2 separate regions of the Homo sapiens genome follow, and region 2 is linked to region 1. Evidence: promoter capture Hi-C in 16 types of primary human blood cells and fetal thymus (Javierre and others, 2016). All regions are on one chromosome and are shown on one strand. Each heading gives the region's core, a stretch centred on a gene start or on the middle of the fragment in contact. The rest is flanking DNA. Distances are from core to core; before and after follow the strand shown. Region 1 holds the start of MAP3K4 (mitogen-activated protein kinase kinase kinase 4). Region 2 overlaps PRKN (parkin RBR E3 ubiquitin protein ligase).

The links. Contacts are between HindIII fragments. The CHiCAGO score rates a contact against its expected background, and 5 or more counts as called.
Region 2: a contact is called between a fragment that was not itself captured here and the fragment with the promoter of MAP3K4 in region 1, in 1 of 17 cell types (monocytes). The highest score is 7.5, in monocytes.

What each region holds. Positions count from the first base shown.
Region 1 is chr6:160,989,888-160,994,425 of GRCh38, forward strand. MAP3K4 (mitogen-activated protein kinase kinase kinase 4) reads left to right here and starts at 1,882. Exons shown (of 27, transcript NM_005922.4): 1 at 1,882-2,196. The coding sequence starts at 2,045. MAP3K4-AS1 (MAP3K4 antisense RNA 1) reads right to left here and starts at 2,455. Exons shown (of 1, transcript NR_174962.1): 1 at 431-2,455. RefSeq lists enhancers at 1,318-1,377, 1,398-1,467, 1,420-2,289 and silencers at 1,558-1,887, 2,350-2,644, 2,558-2,687. The HindIII fragment of the contact is 10,290 bases long and covers 1-4,538 here.
Region 2 is chr6:162,719,491-162,724,028 of GRCh38, forward strand. All of the region lies in intron 1 of PRKN (parkin RBR E3 ubiquitin protein ligase), which reads right to left. Among named protein-coding and RNA genes, the nearest start is that of PRKN, 6.0 kb to the right of the region's middle. The HindIII fragment of the contact is 1,499 bases long and covers 1,978-3,476 here.

The DNA of each region.
Region 1 (4,538 bases), core at 632-3,131:
CCTGAAGGAGCTTACACTATGGTGGAGAAGGCAGAAAAGAAATCTGGGGGCTGTGAGGCGCTCACTGGGAGCCCTGAAGACAAAGTGGGGGCACGGGGTGAGATGAGAGGGTTGTCAGCCAGAGAAACAGCTTTCCTGGACCCAGCATGGGGGTGGGGCGAAAAGTCACAACACTTATATTGAATATTTAGTACCAGTTAACTTAGGTTTCTATACATGATGCATTACTTGATTAGGTAAGTGTAAATTTACTTGGTTCCTGCTAAAATACATAGTATCCTCAAGTGGAAATTAAAACACAAGAACAAGCCACAGGTCTCCCGCATGCTGATTATATTTGCTAAGTGTTTTGTGACTTGGACACACGTGTCTGCATTATCAGCTAGCTTAAATTCGGTAGTCATACCAAAGAATACGTAGTACAATGCTGTTTAAAGAAGAGATTTATTTTATTATTTAACTTTTAAAGTCTCTAATATGCCTTCTAAGAAGGGTTCTGGCTCAGAAAATTGCAGAAGAAAATCGAGTAGAGAACTAGAATTACAGAAACCTAAGAAATACTTTTACTGAGCTTTCTTCACACAAGAAAATGCACGGAAATGAATTATACATGGATACCAATTTGTGATTTTTAAAAATTTGTAATTTTTTAAATTAAGATAAAAATTAGTTTATTTTTTTGAATACTTTTTTGTTTTGTTTTACCTCACCCTTTACTAAGCTGTTAGCTTGGTCTGTTGCGCTTACTGCTATATCCTCAGCATCTAGTACAGTTCCTGACACATATATGCACTTAATAAGTATTTGTCAAATGAATATTATTGAGTAAATAAGATGAAGGTCAATTCAGAAATTCAGCACTATCAGGCTATATACATAATACAGACTATTATAAAAAACTAGAATGGAGCAGTTCCTTTTAACGACGGAGAAATGTCAGTAACATACTTTGAGCACAATATAGCTAATTTCACAACTGGTCTTTAAATATAACATACCTATAATCAATTTAATGTTTTTCTTTGTTACCAGAGTTGTTCAAAACGTGCGTTTCACCTATCAAAGCTCAACTAAATGAGGTTTAAGAAATCTGCACATTTGAATGTACTTAATTTTAAAAGATTCTGGTTTTGGATTAACTCTGGATTTCACCCTATGGGAAATTTTGTAAATATTTCCAACTTAAAAAAAAACTGTGAAGCCCCAGCGCTAAGAGTAAACGATGCATTGGAATTTCAACAGGATTTCTGTAACTCTGAAATAATCTTTAGCATTTCTTCTTCCCCCCATCCCCTCAGTGTAGGAGCATTCCAGTCCAAGTTTCTGGGAGATCGCTATCGAATCTTATGACACTGGGGTGAGAAGTTTTGCCGGGTTGAAATGAGGGGGTCACTTTAATAATCTGGAATTCCGGAGACTTTATGTCAAGTCTTAAAAATTCGAGCCTGTGGAAGGCTGCGCTGTCAAGAGACCGGAGTTGCGAGCGTCTGGGTGACGTCCGTCCTCCTGGAAGGTGGGATCCGGGTGGCAGGTCCCTGGGCGGCGACTCCGGCCGGGCTCATAGCGTCGCGCCCGCCCCGCTCATCGGCCCTACCCAGCGTCCCTCCCAGACCGACGACCGCCTGGGAAGCCTCGAGCTCCCAGCCCGCTGCACAGCCCGGCTCCGCTCCACAGTCCCCCACTGCCACCGGCCGGGGCGACACCGGGCGAGCTGGCGAGACCCGGCTCCAGGACCGAATCGCGCCGACACTTGACGGCGCTCCCCGCCCCTCCCTGCCGCCGTCTCCGCCCCCGTCCGGTCGCATTCCGGCGCCCGCCGCCGCCGCCGCCACCGCCGCCGATCTGGGAGGCTTGTCCCTCGCCGCCCACCGTAGCCCCGGCGCTCGGCCGGTCGCCGTTTCCAAGATGGCCGCGGCGCGCACGGCTCCTGCGGCGGGGTAGAGGCGGAGGCGGAGTCGAGTCACTCCCGCACTTCGGGGCTCCGGTGCCCCGCGCCAGGCTGCAGCTTACTGCCCGCCGCGGCCATGCGGGGCTCCGTGCACGGATGAGAGAAGCCGCTGCCGCGCTGGTCCCTCCTCCCGCCTTTGCCGTCACGCCTGCCGCCGCCATGGAGGAGCCGCCGCCACCGCCGCCGCCGCCACCACCGCCACCGGAACCCGAGACCGAGTCAGAACCCGAGTGCTGCTTGGCGGCGAGGTGAGTGTGGCGGCCGCAGTCGGTCGCTCGCAGAAAGCGGGGCGGGTCCTGGCCCGAACTCGGTCGGGCCCGAGGGCCTCTGCTTCCCGCCAGGTGGGGAGGGAAGCATCCAGTCTCTGCAGGCTGGGGCGGGAGGGGCGCGGTGCATCCCTGGGTCCCAGGGGACCGCGTCTGAGTCTGTCCGGCGACTCCTCCCGGGGTTGCAGCTCCGCAGGGTTCCGCTCGAGCGTGTTGCCGGCTCCCCTTCCCTTGTAGACTCCCCCAGCTCACCCTCAACGTTGCGGGGGCTGGGAGCAGAGTGCGGCTGCCTCCCCTGCCGCTAGCTTCGGAAGAGTGGCCTCACTGAAGTGCCTCTCATCATTACTGAACGAAAGTGGTCCCTCCCCTCTGCCCTCATTCGAGTAAAAGAGACATTCGGAAATCGAGTGCGTACTGGCTATTTCCCCGCGTTCTCCTCCTCCTCTCCTTTTGCCCGCTCCAGAGAATGCCTGTCATCTCTTCCGTGAGAAATTGCACTTAGACTATGCAGACAGATACGTTGCTTTCCTGTTCTGAGGGCCCCTTACTGTCCTTTAGTGCTAGTATTGTGCAGATTGTTGCTCACACGTGCACAAAAGTAAGGATTCATTTGTCTAAAACTTTGCTACTGCAGGAAGCTCTAAGGTGGAACTTCGGTAACCAAAGCATTTGTTGCTTTTTCTTCCATACTCTATTAACTTATTTTTATGTCTTTATTTTTTTTTTAATTGAGAGAACAAACTCACCATAACTGAGAATTTCCCTCTTTTTACGTGCCTATGTTTGTATGTTCAAATGTCCTCTTACTCCCTGTCCTTTGCATCCCAGAGTAAACTTGCAAACTGCTGCCCCCTGTCCCCTGTAATGAAAATACCTCGGCAGCTCCTCTTGGCATCTTATGGTCTTGCTCTATGGTTCTAGGAATAAGGCAGTAAAGTGTCCTCTTTTTCCTGCTTAAAGAAAATTCACACCTGTAACTGTAGTTAGAACTGAACACAGGAGCCATATTCTTGCTTGTCATCATTCAGTTGGCCCAAACAAATTTGTTTTATTTTTATAAGCTGTGAAGAAATTAGTTGCCTCTTTTAATTCTGAGATAGTTCTGGGTACTTCTAAGGAACAACTTCTCTGAATAATGGTACAGGGTGTAATGAGAATTCCTTTGGTTCCTTTTGAATACATCTAGTATTTTTAGAAATTTTGTCAGAAAGTTTATTATAAATTTGTTAACGGATCAGTTTTCGAGCAATTTTGATACCTTTTTCTTTAAAATTAATAGTGAACACTTAACGGTTAAAATAGGCCATTGTCTTTATTTCTATTAACCCATTTAATCTTTTCAACAACTCTATGAGGTAGGTCCTGTTATACTCTCTTTTTGACAGATGAGGAAACTGAGGCACACAGTTTAAGTATCTTGTCCAGGGTTTCACAGCTGGTAATGAAGAAAGGTCTGGCTGCACAGCCCATGTCTTTAACCACCATGAAGAATTCATTATCCAAATGGGCGGATCAGAAATTAGAATTCTGTATAACCCTACTCCGGAAAGAAATGGACATGAGCATTCTTAGGTAAAAGCGAGAAGGGCAGAGAAATGAAAATGTGCTGCAAAAATGACTGCTGCTTCAGTGGTAAAAAAAAAAAAAAACTTGACTTTTCAGTCAGGCTTCTGTCTGTGTTATAATAAAAATAGGTCAGGATAATGGGTTTCATCCAACTGTAAGTGAACAGCAGTGTACGGAACAAGAAGATCTCAATATTTTTCTTAGCAACATTGCAGTTAATTTTACAATAGAAAAATCTGTAAAACAGATTACTTGACAAAGCTGTTGTTTTCTCTTTTTTATGTCCTCGTTGTCACCACCTGCTCTTCAATACATAGAACTGACCTCTGACAGAATTACTGTAGATCTTTGGTAAAAGATGTAGGGGGTCTATCCAGTTGTTCATTTGAACTTTTTTTTTTAACCATTTTAGAGGAGCTCAGTGTACGTGTTCAAAATGTGTGAAATGCCACCTCTTTTTTTTTTTTACAATTTTCTTTTTTATTTTATTTTCAATAGTTTTTGGGGTACAGGTGTTTTTTGGTTACATGGATAAGTTCTGTAGTGGTGATTTCTAAGATTTTGGTGCACCTGTCACCCAAGCAATGTACACTGTACCAAATATGTAGTCTATTCCTCACCCCGCTCTGAGCCTTCCCCCGAGTCTTCAAAGTCCATTATATCATTCTTACGCCTTTGCATCCTCCTAGCTTAGCTCTCACTTATAAGTGAATACGATGTTTGGTTTTCCATTCCTGAGTGACTTCACTTAGAGTAAT
Region 2 (4,538 bases), core at 1,477-3,976, 1.7 Mb after region 1:
CCCCCATCCTCTAGCTGCCCAGAGTTCATCATTCCTCAATTTTGTTTCAATGGAAAAAAAAAATTGTAATCAGGACTGGATTTGCCTGGAAGGAAAATGCAGAGCCAGAGACTACAAAGATTTCCATTGCAGACAATTCCCAATCTAGGGAATGTCTCCAGTAGGAGCTGTGGTGAAGCCTGGTCTGTTCCGGTCAGGCCACTCCTGTGATAACCCTCAGAAACATTACAACCCACAGTCAAGCCCTGTGGCAACAAGTAAGGAAGAAATTCACCTGTTGTTCAGACAACAGCTGCTCCTTTGAGCTGAAGAATGAAATATTAAATTCCAGCTTCTGAGAAAATCAAGGAATGTGGGTAAGAAAAAAATGAGGGGACAGAAAAGAGGGAGTGCAGGTAGATGTCAAAAAAAAAAAAAAAAAAAAAAAAACTAAAGGTTGACCTCAGAAACACAGATATTACAAATGTTCCTTCCTATTTCTCCATTTTATTAATACGAGCAAGTTTCAGGTGTCTACTTCCTATCATTTCATGATCTGGAAAATGGATCTACTCTGCGGGTACAATAAGCTTTAAAAATGACTACGCAGTTACAGAGGGCTTCATCACAAGATCTTATTTATGCACTGAAACTCCAAAAATATCTCACAATAGGAGTAACTGGCGTATTCAACAATTATGTAAATAAATAATAAAAAGTCTCAATCAGGACACCAATATTAACTCCCTAATCACCAATTTTCCCCCTCATTTGATGAGGGTAGGAGTAGAGATGTGCAAAATGGGTGAGGCTGCTAACTATTGAACATTCTCTCCTCCAAAGTTAAGGGCTCTCATGTGAAACTTTATGGGGGCCTCTGTTCAGGTCTTACAGTAAAAGTAAATTGGAGAGAATCATCAAGAAGCCATCAATACTCTTAAAAATACACACATCTGTCCATAGATGGTCTTTTTTTTTTTTTTTTTTTTTTTGAGACGGAGTCTCGCTCTGTCGCCCAGGCCGGACTGCGGACTGCAGTGGCGCAATCTCGGCTCACTGCAAGCTCCGCTTCCCGGGTTCACGCCATTCTCCTGCCTCAGCCTCCCGAGTAGCTGGGACTACAGGCGCCCGCCACCGCGCCCGGCTAATTTTTTGTATTTTTAGTAGAGACGGGGTTTCACCTTGTTAGCCAGGATGGTCTCGATCTCCTGACCTCATGATCCACCCGCCTCGGCCTCCCAAGGTGCTGGGATTACAGGCGTGAGCCACCGCGCCCGGCCCATAGATGGTCTTAATATGTGCCTAGGTATATGAGTCATGCAGATATCTAAGAGGAAGAAACTATTCTGCACTATTCTGGGTGACACGATATCCACAGCTCTGATGACATTGTTCTCTCCACACAGAGAAGAAACTATAAATAGAACCCTAAGCATCATGTTCCACATATCAAAGAAGGAGATACAAACTATTTTTGGAATACAAATAAAGCTTTAGTAACATGAAATAAAACACCTGTCAATAAGAGACATTAATCTATTCTACAAAAATAAGAACTTTTTAAAAAGAAATATGGCCTTTAATCAGAGATGATGTAATGACATATCAAATCAATGTCAACACCCTGAGAAAAGCCATCTCCTACTGCACAATTACCCTGCCATTCTCAGTCGAAGACTGTCCTCTATTAAACATTATCTGGACTTCTTTCCTTTGTTTTATGGAGTGAGTTTATAAACGCTTGTTCTCCGTAACTAGTGATTTCAAGTATTCTGTTTTATCTAAGAAGTACAATGAAGGTCATGAGAAGTCCTCTATTAACACTTTATCTGGACTTGCTGGCACTAGTGTAACTATTTTCTACAACGTTCTATTTCATAACTTTCTAGTACTGCCACAGACATCTTTCTAAAATACAACCTGTTCATAATGCTCTTTTGTAGATAATGGTTCAGTGACTCCTCCCTATCGCCAACTTTAAACCTACCTCCTTGACAAAGCTTATCTGGTGTGCCTGCAGCCTCACCAGATACCTTTCATTCTATTCTCTTCTCTCCCCTCCATGCCTGTCTAGAAGGCCGCCTTCACCTAGTTAACTCCTACTTGTCCTGCAGGAAAACTGGAATGGCTCCACTGGGAAACAGCTGGATCTTCCAAGCTCTATAGGCTGAGTTTTCCAGTACTTCCTTGTATAAACCTATATTATGATACCCACCTTTCAGGTTTGTAAATCTTTACTTTTCTGTACCCCTTCTAGACTATGAACAAGGACCTGATGAAGGGTAGTTACTAAAATGTTGGCTGACTCTAAAGGAGGTGCTAATTGCCTCACACTAAAAAGAGGGTAAGAGGTGACATGGAAAATTTCACATAAAGTTGGTGCCATTGGAACTGGATCTTGAGTGATGAACAGTAGTTTTGAGATGTTCAACAGAAAGAAAGGGCATTCAGATCAACGAGAATCAAATGAACAAAAGAAACATGAAAAATCACGTGTTGCAGGCATGTATGTGTGTGCTGATATGTACATACATCTTTCTAATTACTCTTCTTCTGTGGTGGTGAAGGTGCAATCTATACCACCAATATAAGCCTAATCAGCCCAACTAGGCCACAAACTTATTGGGAAGAAATGGTCATTTCTATGTACCTTCCCCACAGGCAATATATAGACAAATACAACCTATGTGTACCCATCCCTACCCAGCACCATCTAATACATATGGTATAAAGAAATGACACTGAAATAATAATCATAAATACCTATTCATTCAAGGAAAAAAGGTTTCTATTTGGTGAAAAACAGACATTTGAGTTAATCTGTTAAGAGTCCTAGGTAATTAGGAAATTACTGGGGGAAAAGAATCCTATTACTGTAATTCCTTTTAACCAAGATTCTATGCTACAGGATGAAGTAAATAAGCCAGGGAGGTGAGCTGCAACATAAATCAGCCGACTGTCACATGAGTCTCTTTAATATTACAAAATTGAGGGAGAGAAACCATTCAGATTACTACGAAGAAACATTTAAAATGAGCTCATTAAATGCAAATTAAAACAGAAACATTGAATAAGCACTGGGCTACAATTAAAGGCTGCAGAAACAGCAGGTAAGAAACAATTTTCATTGATCAAAGAACTAATAGCTAACAGAATAAAGTATTTTGCATTAAAACTGCTTTCATGAATATGAAGCATTTCGAAGTAAGAACTCTTTTTTTTGCATTTTTCAAAGAAACTTTGGAGGTAGGAATGGATTTACATATCTTAATACAAAGTACTTTCATTGTATCATTTTCAGGCAATGAAACTATGAGGTTTCAAAAAATGCAGACTTCAAAAACATCCTCAGAAATAGGGCCAAAATTGTAAAGGGCAAAGGGTCATTTTAGAGCCTTTGGACCCAAGGAAGAACTATTATATAATTACATAAAATCTTCTATGCAAAACTTTAGTAGAGCCTATTTTTGACACAATTTTACCTCATTATAAACAGAAGCTTTGGGGTACTTAGGCATAGAGCTGGTTTTCATCAACTTATCAAAATGGCAGGGCAAAGAGCAGTACACAGTATATTCAACTAGAAATATAAATTGAGACTTTAAAATTCACTGCACACAAGCTTGAAAACAAATATGCAGATGTGTAGCCAAATGGTGAAGTCGGAATATACATTCCTGATGGCAAGGGACTTTTTCTGTTGTGTTCCCTCGTTTCCCTGGCACCTAGAGCAGTTAAGGGTACATAGCAGGTGCTGGAATCACTGGATCTGCTTTTGCAAAACTAACGCACTATAAGATGAGAATGAGAAGTTTTCTTCTAAATTAATTTGAAAAGTTAAAAGATACTGTTTTTCATCTGTCAAGACGGCAAAAATAAAAAATCTTCGATGGCACATGGGAGGAAATGGGCACTCTTATACACACTGAAAGGGAGGGCAGGGCCACCAAGGACAGTTGTGCAGCTTGTACACTGAAAGGCACTACCCCTAGGGTGAGAGAGAGGTGGGGGACCGGAGATCCAGGAGGCGTTCTGCTAGTGAAAGCTGAGTCAGTCTCAGGAAGGACGTCTTTTGGCAATTTTCAGCCCAGAGGGGCAGGGCAGCTCTTTACTACCATGTTGTATTAGTGGAGGCTTTAGATAGGCTTGTAAAATTGGGCAACTTATTTTGGAAAAATTTTGAAATACCTAGGAAAATGTAAAATCTACAAACTCTTTAACTCAAATTGTCATACGATTTTTATTTTACATCTATGCTTACATGTGCAAGTAAAAAGATATGGCCACAAACACTTCTGACAACAGTTGTCTGTAAACCTAATGAGTGCTTATTTATTGGTAAATATTTTCATAATTAGTGTATCCTATAAAAGACTAGGCAGGAATCGCTGTGGAGTGGATCTGGACATGCAGATATGTAAATTCTCAAAGAGATGCTAAGTGAAACAAGGTATAGAAGAGACTATGTTCCAATGAATGGTTTTTGTCAATCAAAAATCTTCTTAAAAGTCTAAGACACTGAATGTGTATTTCAATACTGACAACATTGTTGTATATAT